Linked DNA regions of Homo sapiens: region 1 is linked to region 2. The links are contacts of gene promoters, found by promoter capture Hi-C in blood cells and fetal thymus (Javierre and others, 2016). All regions are on one chromosome and are shown on one strand. The core of a region is centred on a gene start or on the middle of the fragment in contact, and the rest is flanking DNA. Distances in the headings are between cores, read along the strand shown.

Region 1 (6,691 bases), core at 3,743-6,242, 560 kb after region 2:
CCTCTCAGGATATTCTGCTCTTTCCCTTGGTAAGGGAACTGAACACAACTGTAATTAATTAACTGACACCTGCCCTAGCTAGTAGACTTATATTTCTTGAGTGCAGTGTCCTCTGTCTTATTCAACACTCTATGCCTGGCACTTAGTATGAATTCAAAAGTATTTGGTTGATTAAGCAAATGCATGAACTAACTCCATTTTTCACATCATCTCATCCAATTTGCTAAGTATACTCTATTTTTCAGATGTGGATGCTGAAGCTTGGGGAGTTTAGGAACCTACCCAAAATCGTAGAGCTTGGAATAGCTACAGTCAGCAGCATATGACTCTGGAAATCTGGTCTAAATACAACCCAATCATCTAACGGCAAAGACGTGGGATTGTGAGTCTTTTCTCTGTAGCCGTTGCAACCCAGCAGTCCAACCAACCACCCACTCACCATTCTCTGGGGGTCTCTTCCACTTGAGCTGGATGTTGAGGTTTCGAGAGTTGTTGATCATGGCGGTGTCAAGCAAGTCATAGATGGCATAGGTCTTCCGAGTGCCTAGGATGACGTCCTGATATGTAGTGGTCGGGGGTGGGTGCACCTCTAATGTCTCGTTGTCCTGGGGACACAAAGGCAGGGCTAAGAAGCAAGCAGAGAGGGTAGGCTGGTCCTGGGGACCAGCGGTGTGTTTGTGTGTGTGGCTGGAGACCTTGTTACCTGGTTGTAGGTGGTGATGTCCACATAGACTCGGCTCTCTGAAGCCAGGGGGCAGGGCTCCGTGAGGGTTCGGGAGAACATCCGGAAGAGGGACCAGTCTGAGAAACAGAGCGCAGGGCTGAGCAGGGGCCAGGCCTAGGCCTAGTCCACATAGATAAGGCAGGGCTGGCATGGGTGGGTACAGATGAGTTGCCAAGGTAACTTACCTTTCTTTCCCTGCCCCGTGATGAAGGCATCAAATACAACTGACAGGGTCTGCCTCAGCTCCCAGGAGATGCTAGTACAGCGTGCATTCTATCACAAGGGCCAGATGGCAGCAGTGAGGGGGTATCACTCTCACCACACAGCCCCCAAAAAGACTCCTACTCAGACTCAATCCCTCATCTATGTATCTTCACATCCATCGATTTGCTACCACCCACTCCTGAGCACTTGACCTCGTGCCAGACCCCGTGCTGACAGCTGTATGTGCATCAGTTTGATAAACTATCACAACAACCCTAGGAGTGGATTCTACTATCAATGTCATGTGGCAGGGTGGGAAACCAAGCTCAGGGGAATGAAATGATTCACCCAAGGTTACGCCAGCTGGCAAGTGACTGAGCTAGCAATTGCACCCGCATAGCTATTGTTCTGAACCACTATTTTCCATGACAAATATTTATTCAGTGCTTGCTAGGCAACCACTGTTTTCTTGGTGCTTGGCCAATGCCCTGAATAACCGTCATCACATCTACCACTCAGTACTCACTCAGCCTGAGCCAGACACTGACCACATGCTTTACATGTACCTTCTCTGAGCCCCTGGATGGCAGCTTCCTCTACTCCCCATGACTTACTCTGCAAACAGGGCGGATATGCACTGCCTGGGAGTGGTAGCTGGTGTGGAACAAGCGATCTGCCTTCAGCAGCACAGAGAGGCCTGCCTGGAGGAGATGGAAAGAGATAAGAGAAGCCCTGTATGGAGCACTTGGCATGGGGCGCAGGTTCTCTATACACCCCCCGCCCCCGGCTGCCAGGCTCTGCGGCCTCACCTTGGAACTACAGGGCAAGAGCTTCTTCCAGGGGGTGAGGTTTTCGGTGCAGACCACCTCCCGCGGCAGCACAGCATAGCGCAGAAAGTAGTGGTCAGTGTCTGAGGGAGACAGAGGTCTGTCTGGGGTGGGCCTTGGGCTCTGACCCCTCGGGATCCACATTCCAGAGATGGGAATGACCCTCCTGCTCCCCACACCACCTCTAGCACCACAGTCTGGACAGTCCCAACTGGGAGTAGGACTCCCTTCTCTCCTTGGGAAAAGGCATGCAGAGATGGCACAGTATTGGGGGCCTGCACACACAGGGGACTTAGGATCTAGCCCAGGCTGAGGAAGCAGGAAACTGAGGGAAAAGGAGGCAAAGGTTTGGGCAGGAGGTAAGAGGAAGAAGGAAAGGGCTGTAGGGGTTATCTCACCATTGGCCAGACCCAGGGGTTTGAAGGAGGCAGTGGGAGTGACTGTGTTGGTGGAGTCGATGAAGTTGAGAGAGGCGCAGAAGATCCCTGAGAGGACATTACTGAGCTCCTTCCAAGATTTATCCACACTGGATAGAGACACAAATCCACTCACTGTCCTGGGGCTACCTCTGCTCCCTCTTTCAAAGTCCACAGCTGGCTGCTAAACCTATGATAGGAGGAGGCTGTATTCTTAACTATTAGACGGGCCAGTTGATGGAGCTGGAACATTGCTGCCCCCAGCCAGCCCACTTGCTGGGTCTCATCCTACTCAGCCCCTTCTTCCTCACTCTCCTCTGGACATCTCTGCATCCCCATGGGTCTCTGCTCAGGTGATTCTTCCTTCCTTGCAAGCCTTTGCTAACTTCTTTCTGCCTACCTTCATGATCCGGCTCCAGTGCTTACCTCCCCTCCACGAAGCCTTTCCTGCCCTCCTTAAGCACAGTCTCCTCTGTGCAGTCACGGTTCTGACCATCCAAGCATCTTACTAGGTCCCTCCTGGGAGATGGCTAGGTGGCAGCAGCATCGTGTCCTGACCACCTTTTCTCCCTAACTAGGCTGTAAGCAACTTGAGGACAAGGACCAGTCTGGGTCATCTATGTACTTCCCCTGACACCATGGAAAGCGCCTCATGTATCAGAGCTGAAATGAGCTCACTGATCTTCCTTGAATGTGCTGGGCTGGGCAAAACAATGCATACTACCCTGTGTATACTCTGGGAATAAAGGTAAGTCCTGATTCTACTATCATGGTGAGAAGTCTTATATCCAAAAAAGCTCACTGAACATGGGAAAAACAACTGTTCTAGGATTTCATAAAAACATCAAATTAAATTAATGTTCTTTTCTTGGAGAAATATCAAAAGAGATTTGCTCTCAGTAATAGAGAAAGCATAAAACTTAATAAGCACTAGAAAGAATTCTAAGCATTTGCTCCACATTTCAGGCAATTACGGGCTGAGGGAAGACAGTGACAGCAGAGTAGACAGGAAAGGGTAGGGGAGCCAGAGTTGAGGCAAGAGAGAAAGTCTTGGCAAGCTGGGGAGTTACTGCTTATTCCTTATTCCTTAGTGTTGTCCAGGAGCTTTTGATAATTCTATGTTCAGAGCTTTTCAACTGCTCCAATCCTTAAGCCTCAAATAAAAATGGCAAACTTGAAGCCGGAAAGCTCTACTCAAACCATAAACATGCTTCATTTGGTATGCACAACATTGACCCGCACAGCACTCAAAAAATTTTTAAATTACTTGCTGATATTTGAATTTGCCAATTTTCACATTAAATTCCAGATTTCTGGTATCTCTTGAAAAATGAGGCCAGGTGTGGTGGCTCTTGCCTGTAATCCCAACACTTTGGGAGGCTGAGGCAGGAGGATCGCTTGAACCCAGGAGTTCGAGACCAGCCTGGGCAATATAGTGAGACCTTGTTTCTACAAAAAATTTTTAGAAACATTTGACTCTGACCACATTAGGCCTCTATTCCCACATGGCAACAATCCATAGAAGCTGAGTGGCAGAGCTGTCCTCGTTAGAATGTCACACAAACTCTCTAGCCTGCCACAATTCCTGCTGCTCCTTTTTATTGCCCTAAAACTTGTTATATCATACTTGCACTATTGATTTCTTATAGTGGGATTAAGAGGAAAATGAGATATATTTCTCATTCCTGTGTTTGTCAATTTTAAAAATACCTTTATTCATTCCTTACCTGTGTGGCCCATGTAGACCTGTTTGCAACCACTGCACAGAAAGGTTCTATTCTAAACAGGATAGCCACAGCAGCCACTGGGAAATAGCGGTTTGTAGTAGGCACAGTAACTAGACCTGCCCCCTCCCAAACAAAAGCAGTTCCTCTAACACTGTGATGTAGCATCCTGTTGGCCAGTTGTAACCCACAGATATGTTATGGTTGGCTTTCGTGGTATTTATTATCATTTAAAAAATATTAATGAATGCCTTTTAAAAGGTTATCCAGTTGCCAGTTTTCTACTGCCTTACCTCCAAATAAGCATTAATTGTTTGCTATTTGCCTCTCCAGGGATATGCATGTGCTACCTCAGGTCTGAAAGTTTTAGGATTGGGAAGTTTATTCATCTGTGGTAACATTTCTTACTTCCAATGCCAGCTCTACCCCCATGGAATCGCTGCCTACTGGAAGTGCTGTCCCCAAGAGCAGTGGCAGGATGACAACACTCTCCCAGCCACATTCCCTCCATGGCCTGCAACAGGGCCCAAGGTGTGCACTCACTCAGTGACAGTGTCTTGGAACCAGACCCACAGCTCTGCACCTGATGGGGCCTGCAGGAAGGGTGGCCCCCAGTATCGGGTCCTCCAAAAGCCTTGTGTGAATGACAGGTGCAGCTCCCGTAGAGAATACTTGGAGATCAGCTGCCCCAGGGCTTTGGGAAAGAGCCTGTAATGGGACACTGGGGAAACGGGAGCAGGTGAGTGACGATCCCCACCTCGTCGGGGTCCACACCCAGGATCCCGAACTCTACCCAGGAATTAGGCCCCGCCCCCAAAGTTTGCCTTCATCCCACGGCCGGCCAGCCAGCAGGCACTACGGAAATCTTTCCCTGGTCAGATCTCGCGCCCTCACCTCCTTCCCGCTGAAGCTCCGAATCCCAGCGCGTGCGGAACTGGAATGTGGCGGCTACGTCCCCGGAAGGCAGCGGGGTGATGACAAGTTCCTCCCGCAGGCTGTCGCGTGGGGGTTCTGCAAGGCACCAGCCGCCGGGCCCCAGGAGCAACAGGACGAGCAGAGCAAGCGGCATAGCCGCCGCCATGCCTGCGGCTACTTCCGCCTACCCAGCGGCGCTCGGCCCCATGAAAAGCCGGTATCCAATAAGAAAGGCGTGTGAGAAGTGACTTCCGCTGTCGTCCCGGAAACCGGGATGCGGTTATCAGAGCGACCGCCTGCGCAGGTCGCGAAGATTCCCTCAGAGCTGGTGGGTCTAAGGGGGTACTGGGAGGACACGAGAGGGAGTAGGCAGGGCGAGTAACCAGCTTGAGGCCGCACCTAGTTCATGGCGTATTCCACCCACCAGGAAATGCTTAATAATATGAAGCTCCTTCACTGCCATTTTACCCATTTGATAGTTGAGGAAACATTGACTGAAAAAGATCAATTACTTTTGGGAAAACCATTGTGGTTTTAATTTGCATTTCCCAAAGTAAGAGGAACCTCCTGCCCCTCTTAGCTTCTAGTGTCTCCATTTGCTGCAAAACCCCCAAATAAGTGGTTCTTTTATTACGAAAATGTTCAAACAAAATTGAAAGAATGAGCACCTGTTACAATAAACCTATTTTCCACCACCTAGATTCTACTATTTACATTATACTATACTTGTACTTTACCACATATTTGTCTATACATCCATCATTCCATCTTGTGTTTTGGTGCACTTCAAAGTAAATTGCAGACATTAGTACACTTTCCTTTAAGTAGTTAAGCATGCATATAATTAACTAGAGTTCAGTATTCGATTGCATTTTGATGTAAAATTCACATACAGTGAAATGCACAAATCCAAAGTACACATTCACTGAGTTTTGACAAATGCACACACCTATGTAACCCGAACTCCTATCATGATACAGAACATTCCTAAAACCCCAGAAAATTAGCAATACCCTTTCCTAGTCAATCCCTGCTCCTCTATCACCTTCCAGAGGCAGTTAGTACCCTGATTTTTTCCCACAATAGATTAATCTGTTCCAGAACTAAATATAAATGAAATCATATAGTATGTATACTGTGTAAGGCTTTTTTTTTTCTCATGGGAAGAATGTTTTTGAGAATCATCCATGTTCTTGCATGTATCCACAATTCTTTTTATTACTGCGTAGTATTATTAATTTATCCATTCAACTCTTGATGGGCACTTTTAAAGTTTTTGGTTATTATTAACAAGGCTGCTGTCTGTGCAAGCTCCTTTGTAGACGTATATTTCTCATATCCTTTGGCCAGGTATTTAAGAGTGGAATTGCTGGGTCAGAGAGCAGGTGTATGTTTAATTTTATAAGAAACTGTCAGACCTTTCTCCAAAATGTATCATTTTATGTTTCCATAAACTATGAGTCTCCATTGTACCACATCCTGGTCAGCATTTGAAGTTTCTAATTTTTTGTACTTTTTAGTTTTGACCACTTGGGTATGTATGTAGTGTTTGCTCATTGTGGTTTTAATTTGCATTTCCCTGGTAACTAAAAATGTTAAGCATCTGTTCATGTGCTTATTTGCCATTTATTTTTTAATTTAATTTTTATTTTTTTGTGAAAGGTCTGTTAAAGTCTTCTGCACCCTCACCCCTTTGTTTACTGGCTTGTCTTTTTATTGACTTTTTCGGAGTTCCAAAGTTAAAGTCATGCTTTAGTTTTTCCACCTGCCCTATGGGAAACACATTCATGAAGGATTTCATGAACAGTCTCTTGGTGACACTCATGACCACACTTCTAGAAAGAGCCAATTTGGTGTCAGGCAGGTCTGCCAAGATATGCG
Region 2 (6,042 bases), core at 2,908-5,407:
CTCTGAGCCTCAGCCGCCTCCTCTCTACAGTGGAAGATGATTTAACAACTCCTGTTTCCTTAAGATACCATGACTCCTCAGCAGAGTCACATTGGGCAGTCCCACGGATCTGTGTCTTGCTTCAACAGTGTTTGGACGGAAGAGATCCTGGGACTTCCTCTCTTCCAGCCTCTCACCATCAATCTCCTCTCCACTTGCAACCTCAGGGACCATCTTTTTAGCCACCTTCTGCTTCTGGGTCCAGCCAACACCATTGTTTGTGGTTAGCTCCTTCTTACCAGCCCATGAGCTCCCAGATTCGTCAGAATTATTCCACTGAGGTGGAGGCAGCCGTGAACCACCTGCTCAATTTGCACCTGCAGGCCTCCTCATCTGCCTCTCTCTGGGCTTCTACTTACACTGTGACGATGTGGCTTGGGAGGGCGTGGGTCACTTCTTCCACGAATTGGCCGAGGAGAAGCGCAAGGGTGCCTTAAAGATGCAAAACCAGTATGGCGGCTGCATTCTCTTCCAGGACATCCAGAAACTGGCCCAAATTGAGTTAGATAAGACCCTGGACACGGCTGGACGTGGTGGCTCATGCTTGTAATCCCAGCACTTTGGGAAGCCAAGGCAGGTGGGTCAGTTGAGGTCAGGAGTTCAAGACCAGTCTGGCCAACGTGGTGAAATTGTATCTCTACTAAAAATACAAAAAAAATTAGCCAGGTGTGGTGGCACACGCCTGTAGTCCCAGCTACTAAGGAGGCTGAGGTGGATCGCTTGAACCTGGGAGGCAGATGTTGCAGTGAGCTGAGATCACACCACTGCACTCCAGCCTGGGTGACAAAAAAAAAATAATAATAAATAAATAAATTTTAAAAACCCTGAATGCCACGGAAGCCGCCATGGCCCTGGAGAAAAATCTGAACCAGGCCGCTTTTGGATCTTCAAGCCCTGAGTCCTGCCCGCACAGACCTCCATCTCTGTGACTTCCTAGAGAGTCACTTCTTAGATGAGGAAGTGAAACTCATCAAGATGGGCGACCACTTGACCAACCTTCCCAGGGTGGCTGGCCCCCAGGCTGGCCTGGGTGGGGTTCTCTTGGAAAGGCTCACCCACCCTCAAGCACGACTGGGAGCCTTAAGGGCCCCTCCCAAAGTATCAGGGCTTCTGCCTAAGCCTCTCCCTCCAGCCACTAGGCAGCTTTTTAATTACCCTGGAGCCTTCTTCCAAGCCTTGATCCAAATGGAAATAAAGCTCTGTGGAAGCAAATTAAAAAAAAAAACAAAACATGACTCAGAAAGCACACACACTGCCTGGCATCTTCCCTCCTCTTTCCCTCTTGGCTCTTCTACATTTTTCTCAATGGTCCACTTTAATGTCCTCTGACCCAGAGCCCCTTCACTGCTTCCATAAGTCTCTCTAAGCTGGGGCCATGGAGTTCGAGACCAGCCTGGGCAAAATAGCTAGTCCCCATCTTTATAAACAATTTTTTAAAAGATAAAACAAATTTTAAAGAGAAAACAAAAAAATAAAGCTGAGACCAGAACTAGACTGCACTCTCTGGAGGAACAAACCCTGGATTCACAGGCAGAATACAAGGATTTGCCTGCTTGTCTTTGTGATGGAAGGGTTCTGGTATGTTGTTTCCAAGGAGCCGAGACCTTGGGCTGTTAGCTTTCCCCCTCTGGGCCTTGGGCTCCTCTTCGGTTTCATGATGAGTCTGTTTCATCTGTACCATGACATTCTGCAATCTTGTGATGCTGTGGCAAAGGCCAGGATTAAGGTTGAGTCTTTTTTTTTTCTTTTTAATAGACAGGGTCTCACTCTCTCACCAAAGCCAGAGTGCAGTGGCGCACTCATAGTTCACTGCAGACTCTACCTCCTAGGAGGCTTCAGTCTTAGTGGGGAAGGGAATGAGGGTACTGTGGGGCTACTTCGGAGTACCCCAAACTTGGGAGAGGTGACTTGGTCAGATGTAGGATGCACCCTACTACCCTACTGGCATGAGGGGGCAGATGCTTCTGTAGGGCTGAGGAATGGGGTCCACACGGGAAAACTGCCTGGAGATAGTAAAACCAACATGTCATCATGCCAGTGCTGACCTAGCTCTTCAGAGCTGCTCTGGGGCCTGGTCCTGCTGGTTGCAAGGGATAGGGGATGAGGGTCCTAACCTATCCAGAGGCCTCCTGTTCCATTCCCTCAACCCAAAAGGGAAACCTAGGAAAGAAAACTTTACCTAAGAAAAGGACCAGATGAATCCCCTCATACACAAGTGCACACAAATAACAGCTCAAAGCACCCTTTGTCCTTTTTATTTTTATTTATTTATTTATTTTTTGAAGCGGAGTTTCTCTCTTGTCGCAATGGCACAATCTCGGCAACCTCCGCCTCTGGGCTTCAAGCGATTCTCCTGCCTCAGCCTCTCGAGTAGCTGGGACTACAGGCGCGCGCCACCACACCCAGTGAAATTTTGTATTTTTAGTAGAGACAGTTTCACCATGTTGGCCAGGCTGGTCTCGAACTCCTGACCTCAAGTGATCCACCGGCCTCAGCCTCCCAAAGTGCTGGTTATTACAGGTGTGACCCACCGAGCCCGGACCTTTTCTCCTTATTAATAGGTCTTCTCCTTAGGACTTTTTGTTTGTTTGTTTGAGACAAGAGTTTCCGCTGTTGTTCCCCAGGCTGGAAGGCAATGGCGTGATCTCGGCTCACCGCAACCTCTGCCTCCCGGGTTCAAGCTATTGTCCTGGCTCAGCCTCCTGAATAGCTGGGATTACGGCATGCGCCACCACGCCCAGCTGCTTTTGTATTTTTCGTACAGATGGGGTTTCTCCATGTTGATCAGGCTGGTCTCAAACTCCCAACCTCAGGTGATCCGCCCGACTCAGCTTCCCAAAGTGCTGAGATTACAGGCGTGAGCCACCGCGCCCAGCCTGCTTAGGAGTTTTTTTGAGATTTTTTTCCCCCAAAATTTGTATCTTTCAATTAAGGAAAATAGCCTATGGAACTACAGAGACTTAGGGACAAAAACCAGAGCGCCTTACTCCCTCTTGTGCTCTTCCACTGCAAACTGCTAAAAGTCTTAAAACAGAAGGTGACATTTCCGGAGGAAGGACATACCTTAAGGGCAGCTGACTTTTAATTAAAATTTTTTTTCTTTCTCCACTTTTAAAGGATAGGTAGTTGACTTGTATTTATTTATTTTTTGAAAGAGGGTCTCGCTCTGTCGCCCAGGCTGAAGTGCAGTGGTGTGATCACGGTTCGCTGCAGCCTCAACCTCCCAGACTCAAGCGATCCTCCCACCTCAGCCTCCCGAGCAACTGGGATTATAGGCACGCGCCACCATGCCTGGCTAATTTTTCTTTTTTTTCTTTTTTTTGTAGAGATGGGGTCTCGCTCTTTTGCCCAGGCTGGTTTGGAACTCCTGGGATCAAGCGATTCTCCTGCCTTGGCGTCCCAAAGTGTTGGAATTACAGGCGTGACTCACAGCGCCCGGCCTCAGCTCTATTAATGTTAACAAATATGTATACAAACCTAAGGGACAAGCATTAACTTCTTTCCATTTCCCCGACTCCTGCCATCCGTACTTAGCTCCTGAGTCCCTTTATTGGATGTGATTTTGGACCAGCCCTTCCCATACCCAGACCTCAGTTTCCCTATCTGTACAATAATTATACATTCCCTTCCCAACAAAACACATCAAACCTAACGGGCAGAGCTCGATTGGGTTGCAGCAGCGCGCTAAGTAATAAGTAATGAGTCAGGTAAAATGACTGACAACATGAATTCCTCTTTGGCCAAGCCAAAGTCGCCCGCGGCCACACGCTCTTCCGGGCTGTTGTAGGAGGGGCGCGGCCAAGCCACCGGGAGCCACGCCCCCCACTGGGAGCCACGCCCCAAGAGAGCGGGGCGCGCATTCGCCGCGCCCAACCCTGCGGCCTAGGGAAGGGACCAGAATGACGTCACAACCACTTCCTACGTAACACTCCGCCGAGATAAAGTAGTCCCCAAACCATAGTGGGCTCAGTGCCAAACACCGGGCGACGTATAAAGTCCCAGAGTCTGTTGAGACCCGATTATGGTTTTGAGGCCTCGGAGCGACCTTCCGGAACACTGAAAATGTGTCTTTCCCGGGGCCAGCGGGGGAAGTAGTTCCGGCCTACAATAGGCCGATGGGTTCCTCCGCAGCGGAGGAAAGAGGATGGCGACCTCGTCGATGCCGGAGTCAGAGAGGAACGTGGCTACGAAAGCCTCGGGTGAGCTTCGGGTAGAGTTAGGCGGCCCCACCGTACCCTGCCGTGGAGTGAGGTCACACTGCGGGGATACCCGGAGGCGAGGTCCCAGGCCGGCGGGGCTGTCCGAACAGGGCCCCGGGGTCCCAGGCCCTTTAGTCGCTCTCGCACTTGCCTGAGCGGAAACCCGGCGCCACCACAAGATGGCGTCGGGCCTGGAGCACAGGCAGCGCCGGGGACAGCCCCAAATCGCCAGGCCCCGAGACCGTCGCTGTCAGCCGCCTCCGCAGGGGAACCGGGGGGGAGCGAACCACTGACCCAGGGGGCCAGCGGGCTGTACCACCGGCCCTGCAACCCGGGGGGACGCGGGGGCCGAAGGGCTGAACCACTGGGCCCGGATGGGGCTCACAGAGCGGAACGCTCCACGAGAATCGTGGGGGCGAGGGAAAGGGTCAAGATTACCAGCCATTGACCACCCTCCCGGGAAGGGCCTTAGCCTGGGAAGCACAGCTTCTCCGTCAAGTTTTTCCCGAGCTCCCCTCGCAATACACCAGGAAGCTCCGCCCCGTCGGAGACTCAATCTTCGCATCTGCAAAATGGGCGCAGGGGTGCAAATGGGTGGCCGTGGTTGCCGGGGCTGGGGAGATGGCCCACTTGTTCCAGCCACGGTCACCTCTCTTCTCAGAGTGAAGTTCCCAGACCCTACGCCCCGCTGTCAGGCAGCCCGCCGATCAGATGGAGGAGAACGAGGTGGAGAGCAGCAGCGACGCGGCCCCTGGGCCTGGCCGGCCCGAGGAGCCCTCTGAGAGCGGCCTGGGTGTGGGCACCTCAGAAGCCGTGTCCGCCGACAGCAGCGACGCCGCGGCCGCCCCGGGGCAGGCAGAGGCCGATGACTCTGGCGTGGGGCAAAGCTCGGACCGCGGCAGCCGTTCTCAGGTATGGACCCGGCTGGACGGCGTGGGTGGAGGCAAGGACCGCGAGCAGCAGTGCCTGACAGCCAAGAGGAAACAAGGCTTGTTTGTAGCTAATACTTGGTGTTTCTGGTTTACTGTGAGCCAGGCACCAAGCCAAACCCCTAAAATGGATTTTCTCATTTGAGCTTCATACCTTCTAAGACACATACCATTTTTTCCCACATCTTATAGAAAAGGATGCCGAGGTACAGAGTGCAGACAGAGCCAGGATTCAAATCTAGGCTGTGGTCTTAGCTACTATACTACCCACAGTCCTCACACTTTGAGAGGCAGATGTCTAGGCCAGGAGTGGTAGCTCATCGCCTGTAATCCCAGCACTTTGGAAGGCTGAGGTGGGAGGATCACTTGAGCCCAGGAGTTGGAGACCAGCTTGGGCAAATAGCGAGACCTCATCTCTACAAAAAAAAAAAAAAAAACGCAAGTGCCCTGGGTTAAGACTGGGTCCTGCCTCCAGTTTACTGGGAGACCTCTTTGAGCCTCAGTATCCCGGCTAAAGTAAAGCAGAAATACTTGCTTTCAAGGGTGCTTGATTGTGAGCTCCCACCAGACATCCTCTTGCAAACATTTTGTAAACCATCTCCTCCTGGCTGTGCCACTTCCTAGCCGTGTGATCTTGAGCAAGCTACCCAACATCTAGCTCTGTTTCCTCGTCTGTAAAGTGGGAATGGTAAATATACCTGCCTCATAGAGTTTTTGTGAGGATGAAATGAATTAACATATGCAAAGCTAATAATTAAAACAGTGCTCAGCACATTGTAAGCACTCAGTAAGTATTAGCCATTCTTATATGCAAGATAATGGTCATATTCAGTATATCACGTGATAGAAGTACACAGCAGTGGTCATCACTTTGG

Evidence for each region. The method cuts DNA at HindIII sites, captures the fragments that hold promoters and counts their contacts. A CHiCAGO score of 5 or more calls a contact.
Region 1: the fragment with the promoter of PIGT here is called in contact with the fragment with the promoter of ZNF335 in region 2 in 1 of 17 cell types (erythroblasts); the score reaches 5.1 in erythroblasts.

Annotation. Positions count from the first base shown.
Region 1 is chr20:45,414,442-45,421,132 of GRCh38, reverse strand. PIGT (phosphatidylinositol glycan anchor biosynthesis class T) reads right to left here and starts at 4,992. Exons shown (of 12, transcript NM_015937.6): 1 at 4,790-4,992; 2 at 4,439-4,616; 3 at 2,154-2,281; 4 at 1,738-1,838; 5 at 1,543-1,629; 6 at 910-997; 7 at 704-801; 8 at 440-605. The coding sequence starts at 4,976. It overlaps LOC107985405 (a long non-coding RNA gene), which reads left to right and starts at 2,750. Exons shown (of 2, transcript XR_001754640.2): 1 at 2,750-2,919; 2 at 4,316-6,691. RefSeq lists an enhancer at 1,464-1,523. The HindIII fragment of the contact is 8,427 bases long and covers 263-6,691 here.
Region 2 is chr20:45,970,318-45,976,359 of GRCh38, reverse strand. It overlaps ZNF335 (zinc finger protein 335), which reads left to right and starts at 4,157. Exons shown (of 28, transcript NM_022095.4): 1 at 4,157-4,238; 2 at 4,900-5,150. The coding sequence starts at 4,950. It also overlaps the pseudogene FTLP1. RefSeq lists enhancers at 541-1,077, 3,536-3,755 and a silencer at 4,526-4,645. The HindIII fragment of the contact is 10,906 bases long and covers 1-6,042 here.